6 separate regions of the Homo sapiens genome follow, and regions 2, 3, 4, 5 and 6 are each linked to region 1. Evidence: promoter capture Hi-C in 16 types of primary human blood cells and fetal thymus (Javierre and others, 2016). All regions are on one chromosome and are shown on one strand. Each heading gives the region's core, a stretch centred on a gene start or on the middle of the fragment in contact. The rest is flanking DNA. Distances are from core to core; before and after follow the strand shown.

What was found. Contacts are between HindIII fragments. The CHiCAGO score rates a contact against its expected background, and 5 or more counts as called.
Region 2: a fragment that was not itself captured here is called in contact with the fragment with the promoter of PIM3 in region 1 in 7 of 17 cell types (M0 macrophages, monocytes, M1 macrophages and 4 more); the score reaches 8.5 in M0 macrophages.
Region 3: a contact is called between a fragment that was not itself captured here and the fragment with the promoter of PIM3 in region 1, in 2 of 17 cell types (megakaryocytes and neutrophils). The highest score is 6.7, in megakaryocytes.
Region 4: a fragment that was not itself captured here is called in contact with the fragment with the promoter of PIM3 in region 1 in 1 of 17 cell types (endothelial precursors); the score reaches 5.1 in endothelial precursors.
Region 5: a fragment that was not itself captured here is called in contact with the fragment with the promoter of PIM3 in region 1 in 1 of 17 cell types (non-activated CD4 T cells); the score reaches 5.1 in non-activated CD4 T cells.
Region 6: a fragment that was not itself captured here is called in contact with the fragment with the promoter of PIM3 in region 1 in 1 of 17 cell types (endothelial precursors); the score reaches 5.2 in endothelial precursors.

Annotation. Positions count from the first base shown.
Region 1 is chr22:49,958,467-49,962,879 of GRCh38, forward strand. PIM3 (Pim-3 proto-oncogene, serine/threonine kinase) reads left to right here and starts at 2,306. Exons shown (of 6, transcript NM_001001852.4): 1 at 2,306-2,566; 2 at 2,659-2,768; 3 at 2,852-2,902; 4 at 2,976-3,345; 5 at 4,223-4,399. The coding sequence starts at 2,482. MIR6821 (microRNA 6821) reads left to right here and starts at 4,400; the gene lies at 4,400-4,413. RefSeq lists silencers at 1,279-1,338, 1,479-1,758, 1,799-2,438, 2,489-2,638, 2,779-2,828 and 2 more. The HindIII fragment of the contact is 13,464 bases long and covers 1-4,413 here.
Region 2 is chr22:50,189,445-50,193,857 of GRCh38, forward strand. It overlaps TRABD (TraB domain containing), which reads left to right. Exons shown (of 10, transcript NM_001320485.2): 2 at 3,583-3,649; 3 at 4,132-4,210. The coding sequence starts at 3,617. Among named protein-coding and RNA genes, the nearest start is that of TRABD, 5.7 kb to the left of the region's middle. RefSeq lists enhancers at 211-825, 826-1,440, 1,126-1,485, 1,756-1,975, 2,166-2,315 and 2 more and a silencer at 2,466-2,515. The HindIII fragment of the contact is 1,058 bases long and covers 860-1,917 here.
Region 3 is chr22:50,144,879-50,149,291 of GRCh38, forward strand. MOV10L1 (Mov10 like RNA helicase 1) reads left to right here. Exons shown (of 27, transcript NM_018995.3): 19 at 811-932. Among named protein-coding and RNA genes, the nearest start is that of PANX2, 24 kb to the right of the region's middle. The HindIII fragment of the contact is 7,030 bases long and covers 1-4,413 here.
Region 4 is chr22:50,119,008-50,123,420 of GRCh38, forward strand. MOV10L1 (Mov10 like RNA helicase 1) reads left to right here. Exons shown (of 27, transcript NM_018995.3): 10 at 1,495-1,609. Among named protein-coding and RNA genes, the nearest start is that of MOV10L1, 31 kb to the left of the region's middle. The HindIII fragment of the contact is 2,305 bases long and covers 1,332-3,636 here.
Region 5 is chr22:49,797,756-49,802,168 of GRCh38, forward strand. BRD1 (bromodomain containing 1) reads right to left here. Exons shown (of 13, transcript NM_001304808.3): 4 at 1,233-1,364; 5 at 803-931; 6 at 50-362. Among named protein-coding and RNA genes, the nearest start is that of BRD1, 28 kb to the right of the region's middle. The HindIII fragment of the contact is 3,930 bases long and covers 1-3,712 here.
Region 6 is chr22:50,091,993-50,096,405 of GRCh38, forward strand. It overlaps MOV10L1 (Mov10 like RNA helicase 1), which reads left to right. Exons shown (of 27, transcript NM_018995.3): 2 at 9-193. Among named protein-coding and RNA genes, the nearest start is that of MOV10L1, 4.2 kb to the left of the region's middle. The HindIII fragment of the contact is 1,116 bases long and covers 1,283-2,398 here.

The DNA.
Region 1 (4,413 bases), core at 1,056-3,555:
AGATGTCACACTTTAGGGAAAGGGCTGCCTCTGGCCCTGCCCTGCCCTCCACTCCAGGGCCAGGCTGCTGGACCCCCACGCAGGAGCCCTCCGGAGGCTTTCACCGAGGCCTGTGTGGCAGGAATCCCATCTGGAGGCCTGGAGGAATCTCCAGCACACCTGGAGTGAGCGGGAGGAGGGCCGTGGAGGACAGGCACACCGTGCTTTCTGAAGGAGCAAGTCCTCCTGGATCTTAGTTAAGGGACACTTGAGGGTTTCAGAGCAAGACCCGGGGCCTAGGGAGAGCCAGGGTGGGGTGCCTGCCCGCCAGAGCCTGGTCTTCTACGGCCAGGATGACTCAGGGAAGACTGGCCTGGAGCCTGACATGTCAGACTCAAGGAAGACTAGCCTGACATGTCAGGCTGAGGACCCTCGCCCCTCCAGACTGACATGAACTCAACTGTAGTGGTCACCCCCTAGACCTACCGTGCTCTCCAGCATCTCTGCCCACCTCTGCTGCGTGTCCAGCACAGAAGAGGGCAGCCCCACTGGACCCTCAGGTAGGTCCCCGGGAGGACCCACATGGGCAGCAGCCCCTCCTCCTTCGCAGGTGCTGTGTGGATACTGCTGGAGGGGAAGGCTTGGGGTGTCATCCTACCAGGGATCTGATCTCGGGGGAGCCCTGTGCTGGGTGCGTGGTGGGTGGGGGAAGGCTAACCCACCAGCCCCAACCCTGCCCTCGTACTGCGGGAGAGAACTGGACAGAGCTCTGGGAAGCAGCGGCTGGAGGGGGAGGGGCCTGGGGACAAACAATGTCGCGTTGGCTTTGATCCTCAGGACCCAAGGGACAGGAAGAGATGAGCTAGGCAAGAGAGGAGCCCCCAGGAGCACAGGCATGGGCCCAGGCAGCGGGCGACGAAGCGAGCCCCAGAGGGCGCCCAGATGGCAGGTGGGCCTGGGCCAGTCCCGAGAGCCACAGCCTCAGAAGAGCTGAACAGGGGAGTGGTGTGTGAGTGGTCAGCGCAGGGACAGCGATGGTGACTGTATAGAGATGAGAGGTCAGACTTAGGGGAGGCTGGAAGCTCCGAGGCAAGTGTGTGTGCGCGCTGACGGTCACACCAGACCGCCCGGGGATGTCTGCCACAATATTTAGACCCCTGAGGGCCACTGAGAACGCCTGGCAGTGCCAAGAGGACCAGCCCCTGGGCCCTCTGGCCCCCAACTCTCAACCCACTAGCCCTGGGGCTGGCGGGTGGCCACTCACGTCCTGGAACCCTGAGCTGCTCTCAGGCCGGTGACTTTGGACCAATGTTGGCAATCTGTGGGTTTGCACCAAACCACACAGGTGAGTCAGACTTCTGTACAGAGAGCAGGGAAGGGGCACGACAGGGTGAAGTCCAGACCAGGGCAATGTGTACCCCGGCTGTTCAGCCTTTGAGTGCGGCTGTCGCAGCAATCAAGGTGGGCTCCCTGGTGGAGGTGGACAGCAGCTGCTGGAGAGCCCGGAGGGCAGCCAGGACCGTGTCAGACGGCAGGAGTCGGGCGGGGCCACTCCAGGCACCGGCCAGCAGGGCAGAGGTACCAGGGAGGGCCCTCGGGCTGCGGGCGTGAGGTCAGAGCCCAGGGTGAGGAGGAAGCATCTCCAGCCAGGTGCGCTCTCGGCCCCCGCCGGGGCTGCGAGGCTGGGGGCGCTGCCGCTGCGAGGGCTTCCAGAGGAGCCGGCGCTACCTCCCCGCGCGCCCGGCCACGTGCGCGACGGGATGCGCAGACAGCCGGGGACGCAGACTGGCGGCGTGTGTCACCTCGAGGCCGCGGGACAAGCGCAGGTCGCCTCCCGCACTCCCACACCCCCAGGAACCCTGCTCGGGGCCGGCGGGTGACCTTCCTAGGCACTGCTGGGGGCGGAGCCAGGAAACGGCTCGCCCCGCCATTGGCTGGGGCGCCGGATTTCTTTAAAAACTCCGGCTTCCATTGGCTCGTGCAGTCCCTCCTCGTTCTGCCCGAGGCGCCACGGCCGCCACCCGCGCGGGCACTGCGCCTGCGCGGAGTGAGAGCGTGAGCGCGGAGAGCGGACCGACGCGACACGCCGTGCGCCTCCGCGGCTGCGCTACGAAAACGAGTCCCGGAGCGGCCCCGCGCCCGCCGCACCCGGCCCTCGCCCGCCCGAAGACAGGCGCCAAGCTGCCCCGCCGTCTCCCCAGCTAGCGCCCGGCCGCCGCCGCCTCGCGGGCCCCGGGCGGAAGGGGGCGGGGTCCCGATTCGCCCCGCCCCCGCGGAGGGATACGCGGCGCCGCGGCCCAAAACCCCCGGGCGAGGCGGCCGGGGCGGGTGAGGCGCTCCGCCTGCTGCGCGTCTACGCGGTCCCCGCGGGCCTTCCGGGCCCACTGCGCCGCGCGGACCGCCTCGGGCTCGGACGGCCGGTGTCCCCGGCGCGCCGCTCGCCCGGATCGGCCGCGGCTTCGGCGCCTGGGGCTCGGGGCTCCGGGGAGGCCGTCGCCCGCGATGCTGCTCTCCAAGTTCGGCTCCCTGGCGCACCTCTGCGGGCCCGGCGGCGTGGACCACCTCCCGGTGAAGATCCTGCAGCCAGGTACGCGCGGGGCCGGCGGGGCCGGGGCCGGGGCCAGGGCGGGGACCGGGGGCGCCCCGGGCCGCACCAACCCCGCCCGCGCCTCCCTGCAGCCAAGGCGGACAAGGAGAGCTTCGAGAAGGCGTACCAGGTGGGCGCCGTGCTGGGTAGCGGCGGCTTCGGCACGGTCTACGCGGGTAGCCGCATCGCCGACGGGCTCCCGGTGAGTCGGACCGCCGGGCGGGCCCGGGTTTCTCGCGCGCCTTGCGCCTCGCTTGGCCCGGCCTGACCCCCGCGTCTCCGCAGGTGGCTGTGAAGCACGTGGTGAAGGAGCGGGTGACCGAGTGGGGCAGCCTGGTAAGTTGGGGCACGGGCGGCGGCGGCGGCGGGGGGCGGGCGCGGGGCTTTTGCTGACCGCCGTGTCCCCCAGGGCGGCGCGACCGTGCCCCTGGAGGTGGTGCTGCTGCGCAAGGTGGGCGCGGCGGGCGGCGCGCGCGGCGTCATCCGCCTGCTGGACTGGTTCGAGCGGCCCGACGGCTTCCTGCTGGTGCTGGAGCGGCCCGAGCCGGCGCAGGACCTCTTCGACTTTATCACGGAGCGCGGCGCCCTGGACGAGCCGCTGGCGCGCCGCTTCTTCGCGCAGGTGCTGGCCGCCGTGCGCCACTGCCACAGCTGCGGGGTCGTGCACCGCGACATTAAGGACGAAAATCTGCTTGTGGACCTGCGCTCCGGAGAGCTCAAGCTCATCGACTTCGGTTCGGGTGCGCTGCTCAAGGACACGGTCTACACCGACTTCGACGGTGAGCGCGGGCGCGGGGCAGGGAACGTTCCGGGGGCCTTGCCGGCGGGTTAACGCCTGCAGGGGCGGCACATGGAGGGGCTGATGACTGTTGGGCGGCCGCGCGCCCTGGGTCTGCTCTCGTGGGGAGCAGAGGCCCACGCGCTACCCTGGGGAGGGCTGAGCGAGGGATCAAGAGCGGGATCGTGCTGGGTGGGGGCTAGGGGCGCGCTCAATATTGCTTCCTCCATCGCGTTGGGGGGTACGGGGCCTCTTGCCCCGGTGTGGGAGGCGCGTGACATCCTTCCGGCCCGAGAGACCCCCGGCTGGGGGCGGTAGCGGAGGAGTCTCCGTGCGTGACGCAGGGCGCAGCCGGGCTGGGTCTGCGCCGGGAGCCTGGAGGCCCCCGCGGCGCGGTTGGAGTGGCGGGGCCTCCCCTGCGTGGGGGCGGGAGCTGCGTGCGTGCGGAGCGCGGGGGCGCGGCGGCAGAAATCCCCGCATTGCGGAGCTTGGGGAAGCCGGGGCTCCCCGCCCGCCCCTCCCTCCTCCCTCCCTCTCTCCCCTCCCCCCGTTCCCGCAGGCAGGCGCGCCGGGCGGTAAGGGACCCGCGCTGTCCCCCCCCCACCCAGGTAGCCTCACAGCGCATCTGTTTGTTGTGAAAGCCGAGCTCTTACTCATGTGACCTGCTCCTCCCCCGCGGCCGGCGGAGGGGGACGGCCGGCCCCTCCCCCAGCCCCCCCATCGCCTGCCGGGGTTTTTCCAGGGTGATGACGAGCAGGATTTTGAGGCCTGGCTCTGCTTCCTGTTACTGAGGCCAGGGAGTTAACCAGCAGGGACCTCGCCGTCTGTTGAGCGGCTCTGCCTCTGTGGTGGGCGTGCTAAGCCCTGTGTCCCCTTAGGCACCCGAGTGTACAGCCCCCCGGAGTGGATCCGCTACCACCGCTACCACGGGCGCTCGGCCACCGTGTGGTCGCTGGGCGTGCTTCTCTACGATATGGTGTGTGGGGACATCCCCTTCGAGCAGGACGAGGAGATCCTCCGAGGCCGCCTGCTCTTCCGGAGGAGGGTCTCTCCAGGTGCGTGGTGGCTC
Region 2 (4,413 bases), core at 139-2,638, 230 kb after region 1:
GAAGCACAGCTGGTCTGATACAAGCGTCTGGCTTCCTGCCAGGCTGCACCGCTTCCCAGCGGGTTGGCCTTGCAGGTAACAAGGCCAGAAGCCACTGCGAGGTTCCCTGGGGCAGTGCCAGCACTGGGGATTTGGGAAGGAGAGATGTCTGTCCCCCCGGAGGGGCAGCCAGGGTCTGCTGGTCTCTGCTGATGGGCCTGAGCGTATCTGAAAAGGACAGGTAGAAAGGGGGTGGCTGCAGCGTGCGCTGGCCGGACCCCAGGTGATGCTCTGCTGGGACCCAGAGGGGGTGGCTGCAGTGTGTGCTGGCCGGACCCCAGGTGATGCTCTGCTGGGACCCAGAGGGGGTGGCTGCAGTGTGTGCTGGCCGGACCCCAGGTGATGCTCTGCTGGGACCCAGAGGTTGTGGGGCTGGGAACCAGGTGGGGGTTCTTCAGACATTGTCTCTGAAGACACTTCAGAGTCCAGGCTCAGCATCTGTGGCTTTTGGGCCAGGGCCTTTTGCTCACCGCCAGGCAGCTGGGAGAGGCTCTGGGCCCAGCCATAAATGTCTGAGAGCACAGCTGCCTGGGAGCAGACTAGAGGGAGGAGGGCTGGTAACCTGAAATCACACCCTAGAGCTCTCCAGGGGCCTTGGCGAGGAGGGAAAGAGAGTGTTGAGACTGTAAGAGTGACTGTCAGAGACGTCCCCCAGAATCACGGGCTTTAGGTGCTGGGGGGTCCTCAGTGACCTTCCCGCCTGGCTCCCTGCGGGCAGCACGCCTCTGCTGAGAGGCTGCAGGGGCCAGGGCTGGGGGCTGGCACTGCCTCTGGTGGCGCTGACATCGTCCTGCTCAAGGCTTGGCAGCCGGCCCAGGAAAGCTTCTCTGCCCTCCCTGACAGGAGACCTGTGCACGCCCACCCCATGGCACGACTGGGGTCAGGACCAGCGCCTGCTGCTGCACCGAGACCCTGCCCTGTCCATGGCCACAGGCGTACCCTAGGCCGGCCTCAGAGGCGGGTCTGGCCAGGCTGGGTGGAGGGTGGGGGCTGACCGCAGACCTGGGGCTGCCACACCCATGGGGGAAGGGCTGTGGCGACGTGGGCGCCTCCTGTTGGCTGGGCCGACGCAGCCTCCCGCCCGGCTGCACAGGAGTTTCTTTAAGGAGTTTCCCCGGTGTGCCTCGGCAGCCTTGCGCTGCTCTAATGGTCCGGACTTCCGTGTGTGAGTTTCCCCCGTGCGCCCCGGCAGTCTTGCGCTGCTCCTAAGAGTTCTGGCTTGTGTGTGTAGCTAGACCCAGGGAGGCGGCCGTCTCCCGGACCGGGTGCTTGTCTGGGCTGGCTGGCCTGGCGGCTGCTCACAACAGCTTCCGGTGGGTTCCGGTCGGGTTGCATCGTGGAGCTTTCACCTACAAAAGGGGAAGGAGGCGGCCCAAGGGTCCGGGGCCTGGTCCTGCTGTGACCGGTGCCAGCTGCACTTCCTGGATGTGCCAACCGCTAAGACGCCCAGGCCAGGGTTGGGTCCAGACTCAAGCCCAGGTGGCAAGGAGTGGGACCCCCTGCCAAGGCTGTGAGGCCCCATAGGGGAGCCTGCCTGTGGAGCGGGCCCCCCTTGCCCTCTGCAGAGGCTCAAGGCCCCCGGGGACATGAGCCTGGTGTTTATCAGCTGTCTCCTTAGTCTCAGCTGACCTCCCCCGACCATGGCCCCATTGCACCACCCACCCCAAGCCAGGCCAGTTCCTCTCCCAGAAGTCCCGGCTGTCCAAGAAGAGGGCAGGGTGGGCTGCCCTCTTCTCGGCCAGCTTCAGATGGGGCCTCTGGTTGCACTGAGACAGGCCTCTTCCCCTGCTCAGAGCCGTCCCTGCTCCCCCAGCCCCTGAGCTGCCCTCCTAGACACTGCACAGAGAGCTCCTTCCTGTTCACAGGTTAGGACACCCAAGCTTGGAGGCATCTTAACTTGGATGTGGGTGGCCAGGACCCAGCTGGGTCTGTGAGTCCTGGCTGGGGCCGAGGTCTGTGCCTGCTGTGGCTGTGTGCCAACAGGGTTTGCAGAGGAAAGGAACCTGACATAGCGTCTTATTGCTCATTGTTCCTTTTTCTTATGAGTTCTGAGAAGTGGGCAGCAGTAGTGACATGAAAATGACCCCAGATGCACGCAGGCATCAGTGCAGAACCCGGCAGTGGCCCCTCTGAAGCACATCCTACAAGCCCCGTCGTTTCCTCGCCAGATGCTCGTGTCTGACTGACGCAGACGCTTCAAGACAAAACCACAATACCTTGCACGACTAGACAGCTCAGAATGGTTTCCAACGGCTCATTTTTATTTTTTACTTTTGTTTTTTTCTTGAGACAGAGTCTCCCTCTGTCACCCAGGTTGGAGTGCAGTGACAGGATCTCGGCTCACTGCAACCTCAGCCTCTCGGGTTCAAAGTGATTCTCCTGCCTCAGCCTCCCCAGTAGCTGGGATTACGGGTGTGCACCACCACGCCTGGCTAATTTGTGTATTTTTGGTAGAGATGGGGTTTCACCAGGATGGTCTATGTTGGCCAGGCTGGTCTCGAACTCCTGAGCTCAGGCAGTCCATCCACCTTGGCCCCCCAAAGTGCTGGGATTACAGGTGTGAGCCACCGCGCCTGGCCTGTTTGGGATATTTTAATGATTCTGCCTGGTGACACATCCATCCGCCAGGACATGCATGAGCCATTAACTTGGTAAACAGTCACTCCTGGCATTCCGTGGCTGAGAACATTCAGGAAGAGCCACATGGTGCAGCAGGGCCTGTGGCCAGTCTCAGGACAGCCTGCTGGTCCCTGGCCCCGCCTCGAGGGGCTCCGCGCAGGTCTCGCCGATGCTCTGTGGGTCTTGGCCGGTGCGTGCCTCTGGTGCTGCAGGCGCCTGGCTGTTTTCTTCCTTCCCTCAGGCTCCTGGGCCCCCGGCCTGAGCTCCTGGTTTCTGAGAGTCTGTGGGGAGCTGTGATGCCTCGGGGCAGCCCCCTCGTGTGGCTGCCCCAGCCTGTCCGGGTTTCTACCGTGGTTCCTTCCACACCATGTTTGTCTCTTAAAGTGGGAGAGAAGGTCTTAGGTCCAAACACGTTGATTTGTGTGCTTTGTGGATTCCTCCGTCTGTACTGACTCTGTGCCGGTGTTGTTGCCCAGGCTGTAGTTACTGAAAGGGGAAGTGGCTTTTGTACAAAGGCCCTGGGGTCCTTGCCATGTGTCAGCAGCTGCGTTGCTGTGTCCTGAGATCATGTGTGGACCCCAGGGCTGCCTTCCTATGTGTGCCCGCCGTGCCGCAGTGAGGGTTGGGCAGCTCTGGCCCTGTTCTGAGTGAGGCCTGTGCACCAGCAACCCGCCCTGGGCCCGTCTGCGTTTGGTTTATGCTGGGGTGTCTGGGGACCTGCTGGCCTTTCCCCACCCGGGCCTGACCTGAACCGACCCTGGACCTCAGCAGCCTTTGATGGGCAGGAGGCATTTGGGGATATGGGGGAAGGAGCCCCCAGGCCCACCCAACAGATGGTTCTAGACTGACAGGGCACTACGCAGTGAGTCCTGAGCCAGGTCTGGGGCTCCAGGTGGAAACCCCGCCTCTCATGCCTCTCCTCAGGCTCCCCACAGGTGCAGGAAGCCGCCGCCCAGCCATGGACGGGGAGGAGCAGCAGCCACCGCACGAGGTGAGGTGGAGGCTGGGCTGGCTGCACAGAGACAGGGGCGGGGGGCTTCCCCGCTTTGTGGGCTCTCGGGGTCGGTCCCTGGCTGTTGTTCTGCAAAGGTGATCTTCACAGGGTTCTCCAGGGTCAGGCAGGAGGCACCTCCGAGGGAGAGGGGCGCTGGGCTGAGGTGGCCTGGTGGCCCTGTCTGCCCAGCTTGATGGCAGCCGTGCCAGTGATGGCCAAGCAGGAGGGGTACTGACAGTGTGGGGCCTAGGCTCTACGGAGGCCCTGCTTTTCAGGGTGTGTGGTACACAGAGCGGCCACGGGTCCCTTTCCCGGGTACGTGGTCCGTGGAGCGGTCACGGGCCCTCGTTTTTCAGGGTGTGTGGTCCACACAGCGGCCACGGGTCCCTTTCCAGGGTACGTGGTCCGTGGAGTTGCCACGGAGCCCTGGCTTTCTGGGGTGCATGGACCCTGACTTGAACTCTCCTTTCCACCTGCAGGCCAACGTGGAACCTGTTGTGCCGTCAGAGGCTTCAGAGCCGGTGCCCAGGGTGCTTTCTGGAGACCCCCAGAACCTGTGTACGTGTCCCTCAGGGTCCTGGCACGTTCCCCGGTGTTGGGCTGTTGAGTCAGGGAGGAGGGGGAGGCAGCCAACCACTGCCAGGGGCTTGGAGCTTGTGGTGAGCAGGGGCCCTGGCCGAGACCTGAGGTAGGTGCTGCTAGGCCTGGTGCCACCCAACAGCAGCTGCTCCTGGGCCCTGCCTGGCAGTGGAGCCTCTTGG
Region 3 (4,413 bases), core at 781-3,280, 190 kb after region 1:
CCTGGTTTGGTTTTAAGTATTCCTTTAAGTTGCTGGTTTGGTTATAGAGCGAAGTATTGCTTTTATTTTTTTGTTTGTTTGAGACAGAGTTTTTGCTCTTGTTGCCCAGGCTGGAGTGCAGTGGTGTGATCTTGGCTAACTGCAACCTCCGCCTCCCGGGTTCAAGCAATTCTCCTGCCTCAGCCTCCTAAGTACCTAGGATTACAGGTGTGTGCCACCACATCCAGCTAATTTTGTATTTTTAGTAGAGACAGGGTTTCACCATGTTGGTCAGGCTGGTCACGAACTCCTGATCTCAAGTGATCCACCCGCCTCTGCCTCCCAAAGTGTTGAGATTACAGGCTTTAGCCACTGTGCCCAGCCTGAAATATTGCGTTTAAAAAAGACATTGAAAATAGCTGGGCGTGGTGGCATGCGCCTGTAATCCCAGCTACTCCGGAGGCCGAAGCAGGAGAATCACTTGAACCTGGGAGGCAGAGGTTGCAGTGAGCCGAGATTGCACCATTGCACTCCAGCCTGGGCGACAGAGCAAGAGCAAGACTCCCTCTCTAAATAAACAAACAAACAAACTGAATAGAAAATGTACAAAGTTGTTTTGGGGAAGGGTCTGCAGGATTATGTGTTATATTTGTGGCTCTAGAGTTGATAAAACATGGACTGAATTGATAAGGAAGTATGAGATATTTTGAGAAAAAAACCTTAAATCATGACTTAGACGTAACTAAGAAGTGGTACCAGGGCAAGGTTCCCTTTTGGAATTCTGCTTAATAATTGGAGGAGTAAACTAACTCTACGCCTCCTTGCCCCCAGATAGTTATTGACGCCGTCAAACCGTATTGCAGAGACGGAGAAGACATCTGGAAAGCCTCACGCTTCCGGATAATCATCACCACATGCAGCAGCTCAGGGCTGTTTTACCAAATAGGAGTGAGGTGAGCCCCGGGCATGGAGCGCGGCATGGGGCCTCCCAGGGCAGAGGTCGGAGTCCTCTCCTAGCTTCTGTCTGAGGGGCGGATGACCCAGAGACTCAGTGCTCAGGGAGGGAGGCAGGGCTGTGGGCGAGAAAGGCTGGTTGGGGAGGGCCGTGCCTGAATGGAGCTGGGGAAGCCGAGACCCCAAGGACTCGAAGGAGCCAGCAGTGGGATGGGCAGGCAGATGGACTGGCCCATGCAGAGGCCCCGCGGTGGGGGAGCACTGAGGTCTCCCCAAAGGAGACTGTAGAGCCAGAGCCTCGTGAGCAGGAACGGCCTGAAAGGGGTGGTGAGGGGGAGGCCTGGCGGGCTGTGGAGGGGCCTTTGGACGACCTCTGGTGAGCCGGGAAGCCAGTGAAGGGCTTCTGAGCAGGAGAGTGAGTCTCTTGGAGTGGGCGTGGGGAGGCAGGCTGCCTAGGAAACGGCTGGGCTCTGTAAGGTCAGACCCTGGGGGCCATTTGTGTCCCTGGCGCTGGGGGCTCTTCAGGGGAGACAGGCGGAGGAGATGGATTGTGGGGTGCCGGCTGTCATAGGAGGACCTCCCCTGGGGGCTGGGAGGAAGAGCTTCGAGCCCAGGGAGGCTGAGTGAGGACCAAGGCACTCTCAGACCCCAGTGCAGGGGGGTGGGGTCGGGGAGGCAGCAGGCAGCTCCCTCTCAGTGCATAGAGCCAGACAGTGTCGGGGGCACAGGCTGAGGGTGAGAGAGGGAGAAGCCAGGGCCTCTGAGGGAAGCCCCACCCTCCCTGACGGCCTGGAGACAGGTCGCTCTGAACAGTGTCCAGCGTCACAGTGGTCGTGACCCTCCCTGACAGCCTGGAGACAGGTCACCCTGGACAGTGTCCAGCGTCACGGTGGTCGTGAGGGTGACCACAGGAGGTGGTCCGTCAGCTCCACATGGAGCAAAGGCACAGCCAGCCACGCCTATCACAGCGTGTCACGGATGGTTTCATCGGCGCGTTTAACTCTCTCACATACATGATGTCCTTTCATCATGAGATTAGTAGAACGTGATTGATGAGACACTTTACATTTTTTTTGGTTCAAGTCTTCAAAATCCACCATGTATTTTACACTTAGAGCATGTCAGGTTTCAGACTAGCCACTGTGCGGTGCCCGAGAGCCGTGTGTGGCTACCGGATTGGACAGCACGGATCTGAACAAGACAGGGATTTTTTTTGTTAATGTGTGTTGATGAGTCAAAGGTCAAGAGCCGAAGAGCCAGTCCTCACTGGGGTGCAGAGGGCTCTTTGGGGGCAGAGCGGGCACTGCATGGACCCTGCACCCTGGAGCTGATGTTCAGGTAGTGGGAGGAGGTGGCCGGCCAGGGCAGGCCGCTCTCTCAGAGGCACTCTGTGCAGAAGCAGGGAGGGTGCTGCAGGCCGCTCTCTCAGAGGCGCTCTGTGCAGAAGCAGGGAGGGTGCTGCAGGCCGCTCTCTCAGAGGCGCTCTGTGCAGAAGCAGGGAGGGTGCTGCAGGCCGCTCTCTCAGAGGCGCTCTGTGCAGAAGCAGGGAGGGTGCTGCAGGCCGCTCTCTCAGAGGCGCTCTGTGCAGAAGCAGGGAGGGTGCTGCAGGCCGCTCTCTCAGAGGCGCTCTGTGCAGAAGCAGGGAGGGTGCTGCAGGCCGCTCTCTCAGAGGCGCTCTGTGCAGAAGCAGGGAGGGTGCTGCAGGCCGCTCTCTCAGAGGCGCTCTGTGCAGAAGCAGGGAGGGTGCTGCAGGCCGCTCTCTCAGAGGCGCTCTGTGCAGAAGCAGGGAGGGTGCTGCAGCCCAGCTGCAGAGGCCCCACAGCGTTAGTTGGCCACTGGGGGCGGCTGGAGTGGGGAGGGGCACTTCAAAGGGCAAAGAAGTAGCAATGTCATCTGGCAAAAGTGACATTAAATAACTGCAATTAATACAGAATTGAAACCTAAATACTTACATTCTAGGAAAGATACATAATGTTAATTTTTTTCAACAGAAATAGGGACATGAGATGGGGAAATGGCAGTTTGCTGATTTCCACATCTTTCACTGGGAGGGGTTCACGGTGTCACTTGTGAAATCCGTGTCTTGAGAGTTACACATTGATACCTGAAGTGAAAGGTGTCAGCTGACCGTGAGTGGATGCAGGACATGTTGGGCCCAGCACTGCTGTAAGCAGGAGCCCGCCCCCGCACAGGTCTGACCACAGGGTCTCACCCCACAGTGGGACACCTGAGGCTCAGAGGTGATGGATTTGCCCAGCATCTAGGGTTGGAGAGGGGAGATCCTGGAATCAGCAGTGAGAAGGGTAAACGTGGGCTCGGCAGTGAGGACGGTGCGGGCCCAAGGTGCGTCCTGTTGAGTGTTGGCGTGGCTCCGGACACTCTCTCTGCCCCATACCTGCTTCCTCAGGCATCAGGACATGTTTCTGCCCCAAGAGCATTTCCCCACTGAGGCCTCCTGACCACAGAGCAGAAGCTGCTGGGGTGGGCGAGCCAGGGAAGCCGGGGCACCTGTTCCTCAGCTCATGGCCCCAGGTGGGGTGGCCCCTCTGCACTCTAGAAACAGATCATGTGCCGAGCGAGCTCCTGCTCTCCGCTCAGTCCCACAGCCTTCCCATGCAAGAGTTCCGCAGCTTCTCCTGACGACTCCTTCCCGCAAAATCCCCACCCCGTCCATCAGCAACGCTGTGGACTCTCTGCTCCTGCACCTCCCTTACCTCCCTTGTCACACGGAGAAGGAAGAGCCGGACAGGTACCCGCCAGGAGGGCTGCTCTGTAGCTGGGAACCTCACTGAGTTTGCAGCAGGGGCCAGAATTGTGGGGAGCCATTCTAGAGACCGCATTTTCTTTTTTTCTTTTTTTTTTTTTTTTATGAGATGGAGTCTTGCTCTGTCACCCAAGCTGGAGTGCAGTGGCGCGATCTCAGCTCACTGCAAGCTCCGCCTCCCAGGTTCACGCCATTCTCCTGCCTCAGCTTCCCGAGTAGCTGGGACTACAGGCGCCCGCCACCACACCCGGCTAATTTTTTTGTATTTTGAGTAGAGACGGGGTTTCACCGTGTTAGCCAGGATGGTCTTGATCTCCTGACCTCGTGATCCACCCATCTCGGCCTCCCAAAGTGCTGGCATTACAGGCGTGAGCCACTGCGCCCGACCAACCCCATTTTCTTAATGGTGCCGCAGATTGGGAAGTGGCTCCCAGGGCCTCAGCCTATTGGCATGCAGGCCAGGCAGTGCCCAGCTGAGAGTGGCTCACAAGGATGAGTCAGGAGGAAATGAGCGGATGGCAGGAGAGGCTGCCATCTGTGGCCGCCTGCATGGCCAGGCCTGTTCTCAGCGCTTTACAGCGGCCAGTTCAGCTGCTCTCACCTCAGCCACCTCCCGAGAGACACGTGGGAGGTGGAGGCTCAGAGAGGGGAAGTCAGGACTAGAGCCTGGGCATTTTGATAATGACAGGAGTGAGACGCAGGTGGAGAGCAGGCCA
Region 4 (4,413 bases), core at 1,234-3,733, 160 kb after region 1:
CAGGCAGAGCAGAGTCCCCGAGGATCGAGTTTTAATGACAGGAGCCTTGGAGGATCCCTGGTTCTCATCTAGTGACACACCAAGCAGCTTTCTAGTTATCATTTGGCTTAACAGAAAGAGTGAAATACACAGAGCAACAGCCACAAGGATTTTAACCCCCTGGTCAGTTACTTCCCCGTGAATATTAACATATTGTGTGGGAGCGTATCTAAAACAAGGACATCAGTTTCCTGCCACTCAGGTTAGTGACCCAGAGTGCCTGACCCGGGTTGGCTCGAGCACACCTGGAGCACCAGGTGTCTGGACCTGCCCACGCGGGCATTGGCGGGTGCCTGCTTCCAGAGCTGTCCATCCGTGGCCGCCTGTCACAGGTCCTGCACTTCCTGCTAGGACCCCCAGTGCCAGGCAACTTTGGCTCTTAGCTAGAGCAGAGTGTTCACTTAGCAGATCTGTTCTGGGGGGCTTTGTAGGCCAGCACACTCCCAGCCAAGTTTCTAGCCACCCATCATGGTAGGAACCACATTTTGTTAATCCAGCGTGTCTGTTGAGGCCACATGGTTCTGTTAGCTGTTCAGGCTGTTGACCTAAGCCTGTAGTGATCATCCTGGTTTCCCTTTACCTTGTTCGTGTTAGTAATCAATGCTTTCCAAATACACCTCGCATGTGAGCGCTGACATAACCCTCAGCACAAACCATGGGGAATGTCTTCACCCCGTTTCTCCTGTTGAGGGCTGAGCCAGTGGAACCCAAATTGAGATGACAGTGAATGGAATACGGAGAGCAATGTGGGCTTCTCTCTTGGGTGAGACTGCACTGAAATGGAGAGCTGGGAGGGAATGAGGGATAAAGGTCCAACCAACATCCTTATTTGCTGAGTTGAGTTTTATCGACCTCACTCTGACTTTTCGTTTCCCTGTTCTCTCCTGGCTTCTCCTCTCCTGTCTGTCCCTTTCCCATTGTTTCTGTTGCCGCATTGGGCTTGGCTCCAGAGCAGCGATGTTCTTCATCCTGAACAAACTGAATTTCCCCAGAGAAACCACAGGCTGGGAAACAAAACAAAAACAAATCGAAGGCAGGACCCAGACAGAGCAGCCTTTTCCTAATGTGTGCTTTGCAGGGATAGGCCCAGGTGGAGTCCTGATGTCAAATATAGTAGGAAGAGCTTAGCTCATAGAATGTTAAAAACAGCTGTTTCCAAACTCCTGGTTCCAGGAGATTCTGGGGGTTCCAGCCCTGTTTTCCCACAGCCTGTGCAGCTACACTTACCTGTTTACAAATAGTAGAGCACTTGTGGGAACTGTTTGAGGAAAGGATCCCAGAGCTAAAACGAAAGCTTCAAACCACTGCCTTAGACCAGCTATTCATATATCAGTTCTTCTCAGGAAATGGATGGACTTTGGTCTTCCTAAAATAGGAAAGGATGTTTAGGTAAGAATGTCTAGTGATACCTGGTGATAAAGACTTATTTTTAACTTGTGAACTTAATTTTTTAAGGAACTCAAGACGACAACTTCCAAGTTTTCTTCCCCAATATCCAATCCCAGATAGACTTAGAAAATGTGTGGAACAAAAAATTGACATCCTGACTTTCCAGCCATTACTTGCAGAGGTAGGAAGTGTCTCATGGCCTGTGGGGTGTTGGCATCTTCTAATGCTCTTGTTTTCTGACAAAGCCAGGAGGTTCCTTCTCAGGTTCAGACCTTCATCTGGCTTGTTTTCTTCACAGGTAGCTGGGATAACGAGGGTCACTGCCTGGCCGTGAGGGATGAGGCACCATAGCACTCACGCTGCCAGACCTGCTGTACACCAGGGGCTGGCATCCCACAGCCTCACTGGGGGTCACGCACAGGGCCTTTGGGGTCTGGAGCAGAAGAACTGAGGGATACCTCTGCCATCAGCCTGGCCTCTCTCGCTAGACTAGGAGGCCTTTGTTATGAGCAAGAAGTGTTCTAGCCTTTTACCATCATCCTGACAGAGCCAGCAGGGCAAGGGTCCAGGGGAGGAGAGCCCAGGTCCCCACCCACATGGGAGACAGAGGAGCACGTTCTGAGTGGGGTAGGTGGAGAAGAAAAGTTCAAGAAGGAAGAAAAGTCTATAAATTTGGCAGTTTGAGGGGAGAACATTGCCCTTTGTCCAGGAGGGTTTTTTTCTGTAGGGGTTTGAGGTGTTCTGAGAGTCCCCAGCTAAACTGGAGTTCCAGTGCCAGAGCAGCTGGCAGCCCTGTCCTAAGGAGAATGAAGGGAATGGGACCTAGGTGTTCACCATGCGCCCTTCAGGGGATCCTTTCCAAATACACCTCCTTGTTTAAAAAAATGTCCTTGTTTTACCAGGAGGACAGCTGATGCCCCATGACCGGGGTTCCTCACGCAGGAAACTTATTCTGGCAGACGCCCCAGTGGCTCTCGTCTGACCTGTATCCAGGTTATGCCTGCCTGATCATCTGGCACTGGGAGCCCAAACTTATGTTCCCCAATGCCAGGGAAAACCCGGCCTGGGCAGTGCTGGGTTCTTAGGATGGAAGGTGCAAATTCAATCCACTGCCGTGATAGAAACAAGTTCAGATGTGTTTTACTCACAGATCCTGGGCAGGGAGGTTGCCATGAGTCGCGAGCGCAGTCCTCTGTCCCCCAGTCACTTTGAGTTTGTAGGCAAATGCCTGAATGGTTCATCGAGGTGGCAGAAAAAGCTGGACCTGGGTCTGCTAGGATGGAGAGGTGCTCCTCAGCTCCTCCCTGGGGACCCAGGTCTGCTGGGCTTGGAGGGTGCTCCTCAGTTCCTTCCACAGGCCACCGACTTGATGTTTTGATGCTGCAGCTTTGTAGTAAGTTTTGAAATCAGGAAATTTGAGTCCTCCAGCTTTGTTGTTCTTTGGCAGAATTTATTTTGCTTTTCAAGATCTTTTATACGAATTTTAAGATGCATTTTTCTATTTCTGCAAAATATAGCATTGGAATTTTTTTTCCCCAGAGACGAGGTCTCACTACATTGCCCAGGCTGGTCTCAAACTCCTGGCCTCAAGTATTCCTCCCGCCTCAGCCTCCCAAAGTGCTTGGGATTACAGGTGTGAGCCACTGCACCCGGCCTGTCATTGGAATTTTGATGGGAATTGCATTGAATCTGTAGATTGCGTTGGTTAGTATGGACATTTTAACAATATTGAATCCTCCAGGCTATGAACATGGAATGTGTTAACATTTATTTATGTCTTCTTTAATTTCTTACAGCAGTGTTTTGTCATTTTCTCTGTATATGTTTTTCACTTCTTTGGTTAAATTAATTTGTAAGTATTTTATTATTTTTGCTGCTGTTGTAAATACATTGCTCTCATAGCTGCCTTTTCAGATTCTTCAGTGTTGTTTAGAAATGAAGATAATTTTTGTCCTTTGATTTTGTACCCTGCTACTTTGCTGAATTTATTTATTCTAACAGTTTTTTGTGGAATCTTTTAGAGTTTTCTACATATAAAATTATGCATGCCATCTGCAAACAGATAATTTTATTTCTTCCTTTCCAATTTAGATGCCTTTCATTTCCTTTTCTTGCCTAATTGCTCTGGCTAGAACTTCTAGTACCATGATGAATAGCAGTGGTGAAAGCAGGCATCCTTCCCTTGGAAGTTCCTGATCTTATGGGAAAAGCTTTCAATCTTTCACCATTGAGTATGATGTTAACAGTGGGTTTTTCATATATGACTTTCATCATTTTGAGGTGATGGTTTTCTTTCTTTCTTTCTTTCTTTCTTTTTCTTCTTTTCCTTTTTCTCTTTTTTATTTATTTATTTATTTATTTATTTTTGAGACAGGCTCTCCTGTCGCCCAGGCTGGAGTGCAGTGGCGCAATCACAGCTCACAGCTGTGACTGCAGCGGCACACCACCATGCCCGGCTAACTTTTGTATATCATAGAGACAGGGTCTTACAATCCTCCCGCCTTGGCCTCCCAAAGTGTTGGAATTACAGGCAAGTATGGGTGTGAGCCACCACACCCAGCCTGATTTTCTTCTCTTCCTAGTTTGTTAAACGTTATCATGAAAGGGTGTTAAATTTTGTCAGATGCTAGCTGGGTGTGATGGCATGCACCTGTAATCCCAGCTACCTGGGAGGCGCTTGAGCCCAAGAGGCAGAGGTTGCGGTGAGCTGAGATCGCACCATTGCGCTCCAGCCTTGGTGACAGAGGGAAACTCATGTCTCAAAAAAAAAAAAAAAAAAAAAATTCAATTGCTTTTTCTGTATTGAGATGATCATATGATTTTTTTTCCTTCTGTTAATGTGTGTTGCTACAGTAATTGATTTTCAAATGTTGAACTATCCTTGCATTCCAGGAATAAATTCCACTTGATCATAGCATGTAATCCTTTTATTTTATATATGTTTTTTGAGACAGGGTCTCACTGTGTTGCCCAGGCTGGAGTGCA
Region 5 (4,413 bases), core at 498-2,997, 160 kb before region 1:
GCTAGAAAGAGCGTCTTCCACCTCCTCCGGACACGGCGCCAGTTCTTACCGTCTTCCCAGGAGAAAGGCCGCCGCGGTGCCGCAGCAGGCCGCTCAGGCAGGTGCATCCCCGAGGCCTCTTCCAAGCCGATGCTGTCCACCTCGCGCCGGGCCTGCCTCAGAACAACACCTCCCTGATCGCGCAGCCTCACCGCGGCTCTATAGAACACGGTGTCCCTGGCATTGTACTTCATGCAGTTATCTATAATGAGATCAAAATCCTCCTCAAACTCATGGAGGTTTTTATACCCTTGAGCTTCTAACCGTTTCCTCATTGTGGCAAAGTCCATGGGATGTTTAATGTGATCCAAATAATCTGGTACCTAATTTTAGGGAGGAAAAAGAATCATTTACAAACTAAAACAGGATATTAGTTGACTCTATATTTATTATTCCATATAACCCACAAGCCCATCCTATCTGAGAGCCACACACAGACACGCAGACGGTACAGACATAAGACCCAAGTACTGCAGGGACCTTCCCGACCCCAGCTCCTTCAGCTAAAGCACGCTGGAGGGTGCCGGGCGGATGCTGCCACAGCCCAGGGTACTGTCTGCACAGGGCCTCTTGCCCACTGCACTTTCAGTATTTTACAATGAAATGTATCACTTTTATAATTTAAAAACAAATACGTTAAATAAAAACGAGAATTAAGAACACAAGGGATGTACTCTAGCCAATCACACGTTTCCCGGTCAAACGGCAGCACAAATCCACAGTCACACATGCGGCAGGACAGACGAGCGCCGCAAACACCCACCTCCTTCAGACTCACGGGCTGCGCAAATATCCTGGCGGGGTCCTTGTCTTGCAGCTGGTCCAGCACTGAGCGCAGCAGCACCGTCAGCGGGGTCAGCCGCAGCTCCATGGCGACCTGCTCCACCTTCACCTGGGGGGGCCCAGCAGAGCCTCAGCTTTAGGGAGCCGCACATGCGTCTCAGCCCCACCACGCGCCCCACAGCCACAAGCAGCCCCCACAGGCTCCTGTGCTTCCGTCCAGGCATAGGACAACGCAGCCTCCACTTAGGGCTCTGCAACCCATGGCAGCCAGGCACCCAGCCTGGGCTGAGCAAGGCACTGCTGTGGGCCAGGACCCACCGGGTGCAGCCCACCCTCTGCAGGAGCTGCCAGCGTCCCACCCACGCCCCGTGGCCAGTGGTGCACTCCACGCGGGACAGGCCCAGCCCCACCTGCTCACGCTTGAGCTTCTCCCGCTTGCGCAGCAGCTCGATCAGCAGGCGAGCGCGCTCCAGGTCGTGCCGCAGCCGCTGCCAGTACTTCAGCTTCTCTTTGGCAGCCTTCATCTCCTCATCATTTTCTCTCTGAGAACAGTGAACACTTCCGTCAGTCAAACCCAGAGGCTCCTTCTGCAAAAGGCCTCAGATACCATGCAGGTGAGACCCCAAGAGGCATCCACGTCAGGGGTCCTGCAGGCCCATCCTGGGGAGGACAACAGACCACCCTCACTAGAGAGCCCCAGGACAGCACCGGGACAGAGGGGACAGAGGAGACAGAGGGGATGGAGGGGACAGAGGGGACCGCCAGGCCAAGGTGAGCAGGGGGCTGGCCCCGGTGCACAGGTTCCACCCTCCAGAGAGGACAGAGGCCTCCGCAAGCTGGCGGCGGGGGGGGCCTTCACAGAACCAGAAAGGCCCACAAAGGCGGGGCCAGGACAGAATGGGGGACCCTTGAGGACCCACCTCCAGGACAGCTGGGAATGGAGGGAGCGGCTGGAAAGAAACCAGGTGCACAGAAAACCACATGCTGGGCCCATCCTGGCTTGGACAGAGCATGACGGGGGCCTGGCACACAGCCGACCTGCTGCCCTGCCCTGCACAGCGCCTCCATCCCGACACACGTTTCCCCACAGCCAGGGTCCCATTTCCATTGATAGCACCTGCTCCCTTCTCAGTGGACAGAAGAGTGCGCCAGACAGCACAGGCCGCCAGCCTCAACCCAGCCAACATCCACACCAGGGTGATCAGAAGAAAATCAGAGCCCTGCAAAGGCCATGACACAGATGGTCGCAGGAGAGTAGGCCACCTGGGTCTGCCCTCAGCCCTGTCCTCACCATGTCCCCCAGGCCTGGCCGCATGAGGCCTGCTCGTCACAGTGCCGGGGCACCCTGACCCTACCTCAAAGGGGAGAGGAAGTCAACGAGGGAGTTGGCCTGAGTGGGCCCCCAACACCTGTCATCCTCCACAGCTGCAGGACACGCGCGCCCTGCCAGCCTCAGGACAGCCGTGGCCATCAGTTTCTGGCACATGCTTCACAGCCCTGAGACCCTCCTCTCCCCCAACGCCTCTGTCCCCGGGTTCCCACCTGCCCACCTCAGGGTACTGTCATAGCTTTTCAAAGGACCGAGGGTGTGAAGGCAAAGACTGCTGGACTACAAGATGCAAGGACCCCGGACTCCAAACTGCTCAGAAAAGGAGGCTCAAGGAGGGAGGCCGAGCCCCGCACCCCCACCCCCAAGGCCAGGCCTCTCCATGGCGAGGCAGAGCGTTGCTGCGCTGATGTCCCCTGAAGTGAGGATCTCTGGGTTTTCCTCAATGCTGCTGAACACCCTCAGGCAGGAAATCGGGGCTAAGAGTAACAAGATCCACATCAACTCAAGCAAAGGCAGGAAAATGTGGGCTCCAAAAACCAAGCTCCCCGGAGCATCTGAGTATTGCCTGTCCCTCAGCTTGCAATCGACACTTCTGAAAACCTCGGCCAAAAGGACATTTGGCCTGGGAATCTGTTACGAAGCGGAAGAAATCTCCTCATCACCAGGAAGCCCTTTATCACGCACTGGCTGCTAAGCAAACTTACTAGTCTGCTCCCCAACCTGGTTTAACAAACGCCATCGGCAGTGGCAGGGGCCCCGTTGACAGCACCTGGGCCCAAGGTCCCATGACACATGCAGCCTCATCCACTCAGAAGGATCAAGGTTCCTTACTCGGCTCTCAAGGGCTCGATATTTCCCATGTAAAAATCAACAGTGGGAGGCTCCACGAGAAAGGACAGAAGTGAAGAAGCACTCAGGCATCCCCACTGCCGGGAAGAAGCTGAGCGCCTCCGCGTCCATTCCAGACACATGGGGGAGACACAGGGCAGGGCTAGGCGACGGTCAGGTTAAAATCGCCTCTGCTGGGAGGACAGGCCAGCTCCTGGGGTGAGGGCCCACAGTGTTACAGAGTGGCCGACCCCAGGCCTCCTGGCAACAGCACCCAGCTCCTGCCACTGGGCCCAATGCCGCCAGCAGGTGCGTGGGACTGGCAGAGGCCACACACGCAGCACAGCAAGGACGATGTGGGCAGCAGCGCCCAGCATGCCACAGGACAGACACTGGGAAAGCTGCAGGATGCGCTCCCAGGACAGGAAGGGTGGGCCACGGGAGCAGGAGACAGTGGGACGCCACCAGCATACACACAAATCGCTGCTCACCCTTTATAAAGCTAAGCTGCCGCCCCCGTTCTCCCTGCGGCCTTCAACGGCCACACACACCAGAACAAAAACCAGGGCCTATATGCGCAGCCAGCACAGACCCGCCATCGCTGCAGCACCCTCGGCGCCTGCTGGCCTCTCAAGAGACCCCGTCCAGTTCATCCACCTGCCCCCACCACAGGGTCAGGCTGGGGCAGGTACACAGAGACACAGAGGAATCAAATGCATCAGGTACTTCCAAAGCTTCAAAACCATGAAACCACACCAAGCCGTGGCCATCCCTGGCCAGGAGAAGGCAGAAGCACAGTCTCTCCCAATAGCCCGTTCACACAGAGGCAGGTTTCCAGGCTCTCCACGCCGACTGCTCTGCTGCGGCTCAAGTCCAGGCAGCTCCTTCTGCTCCTTCCCAGGTGACTTCGAGAAGCTGCCCCCTCTGCCAGAAGAGCTGCTCTGGCCGGGCTGTGGGGATGTTCTCTCCTTACAAACGTATTCTGCACACAACAGGACGTGAGGCCTAACAGGCAGCGATGAAGCAGAGGGGGCCCAGCTGGCAGGTTCCAGCGGGTCACCTCTTCTTTGCAACCCTCCCCCTTCCCTTGCCTGGCTCCACCACGCCCCAGGCCACCCCCAGCTGCCTGGGTCCCCGTGGCCCCTGCCCACTGGCCCACGTGTCCTGCTACTGCAGGGATTCTGGCCCTCGTGTCCCAGCTTATGAGAGTAGAAATGATGATTCCCACCGCTGGACGTCCCGTTTGGCCACATCCATGCCCACTTTCCATGGAATCTGCCCTTCAACAGCTCCTCTGTGACTTACCTGGAGTTCTGTCCAGCCCCGAGATAAGACCCAAGATCTGAACCCTCAACTTCCTCCCAAAAAAGCCTCTCTTCCATTCCCCAACATCGCAGGGGCGGAGACCAATGCCTCCACTCTCTTCCTTTCCC
Region 6 (4,413 bases), core at 591-3,090, 130 kb after region 1:
TACCTCAGGTGACACTAAGCTGAAAACTGTACGGGGTGTCGTGACAAGGTACTGCAGCGATTATGGCATGATTGATGATATGATCTACTTCTCCAGTGATGCTGTGACTAGCAGAGTGCTTCTGAATGTTGGACAGGAAGTGATTGCAGTTGTGGAAGAAAATAAAGTGTCCAATGGACTGAAAGCAATCAGGGTAAGGTTTGAGTTCATTTGGGAACAGTTTTTCTTCGCCACGGGACTTTGTGTTGTTTTTCCTTGTGTTTAATCTATCAGACATGACCCGGCCAAGGGAGAAAGAGTGGAATGTACCTTCAAGGGGATGCTTTTGCTCTTTATGATTTATGTTTTAAAAAATAGACTGGGTACAGTGGCTCACGCCTGTAATCCCAGCACTTTGGAAGGCTGAGACAGGCAGATCACTTGAGCTCAGGTGTTAAGAGACCAGCCTGGGCAGCATGGTGAAACCTCGTGTCTACAAAAAAAAAACCCACAAAAGTTAGCCTGGTGTCGTGGCACATACCTGTAGTCCCAGCTACATGGGAGGCTGAGGCGGGAGGATCGCTTGAGCCCAGAGGGTCAAGGCTGCAATGAGTTATGATTGCACTACCACACTCCAGCCTGGATGACAGAGCAAGACCCTGTCTCAATAAATAAACAAACAGCAGTCTTTGTAAATCATTCAAACAACATAGACATGTATACTTTAGAAAGTAAAGTTTGCCTATGAATTTATGCTGTGGAGAACATAGCAATTATATATCCATTATTTTCTTGCTTTTTCAACAATTTAATGGTTATCACCAAAGTAACATCAATAATATACAAATTTATACTCTTAGGAGCAGAATGAGAGACTGCACTTAATTTGCACTTAAGCCTTAAGTATGGTAACTTTTCTTTTTCTTTTTGTTTTTGTTTTTGTTTTTTTCTGAGACGGAGTCTCTGTCGCCCAGGCTGGAGTGCAGTGACGCAATCTCAGCTCACTGCAAGCTCCGCCTCCTGGGTTCACGCCATTCTCCTGCCTCAGCCTCCTGAGTAGCTGGGACTACAGGCACCCACCACCACACCCAGTTAATTTTTTTGTATTTTTAGTAGAGACGGGGTTTCACCGTGTTAGCCAGGATGGTCTGGAGCTCCTGACCTCGTGATCTGCCCACCTCAGCCTCCCAAAGTGCTAGGATTACAGGTGTGAGCCACCGCGCCCGGCCTCATGTTTTTTCTATGAATTATTTTTGGGTCCTTTGTCCACATTTTTGTTGAGTTCAGCTTTTTCTTTTGTTAAAGCTTATATATTAGGGAAATCAGAGCTTTTTAAGGAAAATTATTATATGAAAGTGTTAGGAATATTTTCCCCAGGATCATCTTTGACTGTGTTTTATAGTTTCATTTTTTGTAGTTAAGTGTGCCTCTTTTCCATGTAGCTTTTGGATGCTGTAAGAAGCCTTAGGGAGGCTTATTCCACTTCTTATTCCTAATATTCAAATTTTACTCTGAAAATTGTTTATTGACAATTAGAATTTTTTTTTCAATTTTTGAGACAGAGCTTTGCGCTGTCGCCCAGGCTGGAGTATAGTAGTGCGATTATAGTTCACTGCAGCCTGGAACTCCTGAGCTCAAGCGATTCTTCCACCTCAGCCTCCTGAGTAACTGGGACCACAGGTGTACACCATCATACCTGACTAATTTTTAAAATTTTTTTGTAGAAATGGCGTCTCACTGTGTTGCGTAGGCTGATCTGAAACTCCTGGCCTCGAGTGGTCCTTCCACCTCGGCCTCCCAAAGTGTTGGGATTACAGGCATGAGCCACCATGCCTGGCCTGTTTGTTGATATTTAAATATTTGACCTGCCTGGAATTTATTTGGGTGCACAGACTGAGAGAAGGAACCAGACATTGCTTTCCTAATGGCTAGCCAGTCATCTGAGTAGCTCACTTTTTCCCTGCTGATTTGGAAAATTCCTTAATCATGTATCAGAATCCCACCTGCATGTGATGTGGTCCTGATGCTTGTAAGGGGGCCCCATGGCATGGTTGCTGTGATAGGTGGTGAGCAGGTTTCCCTTCTTTGCTCTTATTAGCATATGGTATTTTTCTGGCTCTTCACATGTTCTGGATGAGTTTGGAATCTTGTTTCTCCCCCTCTGCCCAGATTTGCTTTGGATGGCACTGAGTTTATGCATTTCATTTAGAATAATTGATATTTGGGTCATATGGAGTCTTTTCCATATGTCTGTCCATTTATTTAAGCCTTCCTTTGTATTCTTTTTATAGTTCAATAGTTTTCTTCTTTTAGGTCCTGTAAATTTCTTACTAAATTTATTTTCAGGAGTTTTTATGTGTTCTATTAACATCATTTTCCATCGTATTTTCAAATTAATCTTTTTCTTCCTGTATGGGAAAGCTTTCAATTTTTTTTTTTTTTTTTTGAGACGGAGTCTCGCTCTGTCACCCAGGCTGGAGTGCAGTGGCATGATCTTGGCTCACTGCAAGCTCCATCTTCTGGGTTCACACCATTCTCCTGCCTCAGCCTCCAGAGTAGCTGGGACTACAGGCGCCTGCCACCACGCCCAGCTAATTTTTTGTATTTTTAGTAGAGATGGGGTTTCACTGTGTTAGCCAGGATGGTCTCGATCTCCTGACCTCGTGATCCGCCACCTCGGCCTCCCAAAGTGCCGGGATTACAGGCATGAGCCACCATGCCCAGCGATTTTTAAATGTAATTTGGAATCTGGCAAACGTATTGAGCTATTAACTACTTTTTAAAAATACTTGAGATGTACTTTATTATACTATTATAGTTAGTACCATCTAATGCTTAGTATCATCTTTCTCAAATTAAAAAAAAAGCATACCCAATAAAATAATTCAAAGTCTAGAATTCCATCATTCAATATGGTAGCCACCACTCATGTGCAGCAGTTTCGATTTATTAAAACTAAATGCAACTTACAGCCAGGCGCGGTGGCATAAACCTGGAGTCCCAGCACTCGGGAGGCTGAGGCGGGAGTTCGAGACCAGCCTGGGCACATAGAGACCCTGTCTCTTAAAAATAAATAAATAAAAGTGTTTCCTCAGTTTCCCTGGCCACATTTCAAGTGCTAACTGAAGCCTAGTGACTACCAAATTGGGCAGCACACATAGAGAACATTTCTGTCAGCTCTGGCTTAGAGACTGTGAATGCAAAGTAGAAGAGCCTCCCTCCACGTTCCCCACCTGCACTTTCATGCTGCAGACCTGATGCTCTTCTGGGTTTCTGTTTCTACCTTATCTGGTAGATAGTTGAGTCACTTAAACAATATGCTTGTATCTTTTATTAATTCACCAATGTTAGTATTTATGGACTTCCATCATCAGAGATGTACAACTGGCTCATTCACACTACCCTCTTTTCCTCTCCCAATTATTTAATTATATTTTTTCCTCCAAAGATTTCCTTTTGAACTTGAAATTATACGATAGTCCTCATGTTTTTGTGTGTATTTAAAGGAGTACTCTGGGTTCAGAATCTTTGAAAGAGGATCTGGAACCCAGAACCTGTAGAGATGATGTTTACCTCATTCTCTGAGCTGTGGTCGTGTACTCACACGCGGCCTTCCAAAGCAGGTTCTCATACCAAATTCCCGTTGATTTTAAGATACACCATTAATTTGATAATGAAAATTTAAAATGGAAACGTAGGTTGTGAGACTCATTCTGATCTCAGAAATGTGACAATGTGGAAAAACTGGCCCCTGGGTGTCCAGCAAATCCCAGCCCTCTTGGTGGTCAGCTGCCCTTCACTTGTTCCATCTTGTAAGGAATGCAGGACCTTTTTTGTTATGGTGAAGAGGGTTCATCTCTACTCACAATCTTGCTTTTATAAATTAGTAATGGATTTTTCAAGTACTTTTCAGTATCTTCCAAATGATCCCATAGTTTCTGTCCCTTTGCTATTAATATGGTGGAAAATACAGTTTCTGTGTTGTGAGCCGTTCTCACTTGATGGGAATGATCCCCATTTGGTATAAACCTGAATGTACTTCTGGATTTATTTTTTATTTAGATATTTTTCTTGTGGTAAAATATGCGTAATATACCATTTTAACCATATTGAAATGTACGGTTCAGTGGCATTAAGCACGTTCACATTGTTGCGCAGCCATCACCACAATCTGTCTTCAGCACTTTTTCAGCATCCCAGTAGACACTCTGTACCCATTAAACAGTTATTCAGTGTTCTACTTTATGTCTCTATGAATTTGCCCATTCTAAATACCTCATATAAGCGGAATCATGTGTCTGGCTATTTGACTTCTGTTTTCAAGATTTGCCCATGTAGCATGTATCAAAAGTTAATTCCTTTTTTATGGCTGAATATTCCATTGTGTGAATAAATCACATTTTGTTTCTCCATTCATCTGTTGATGGACACTTG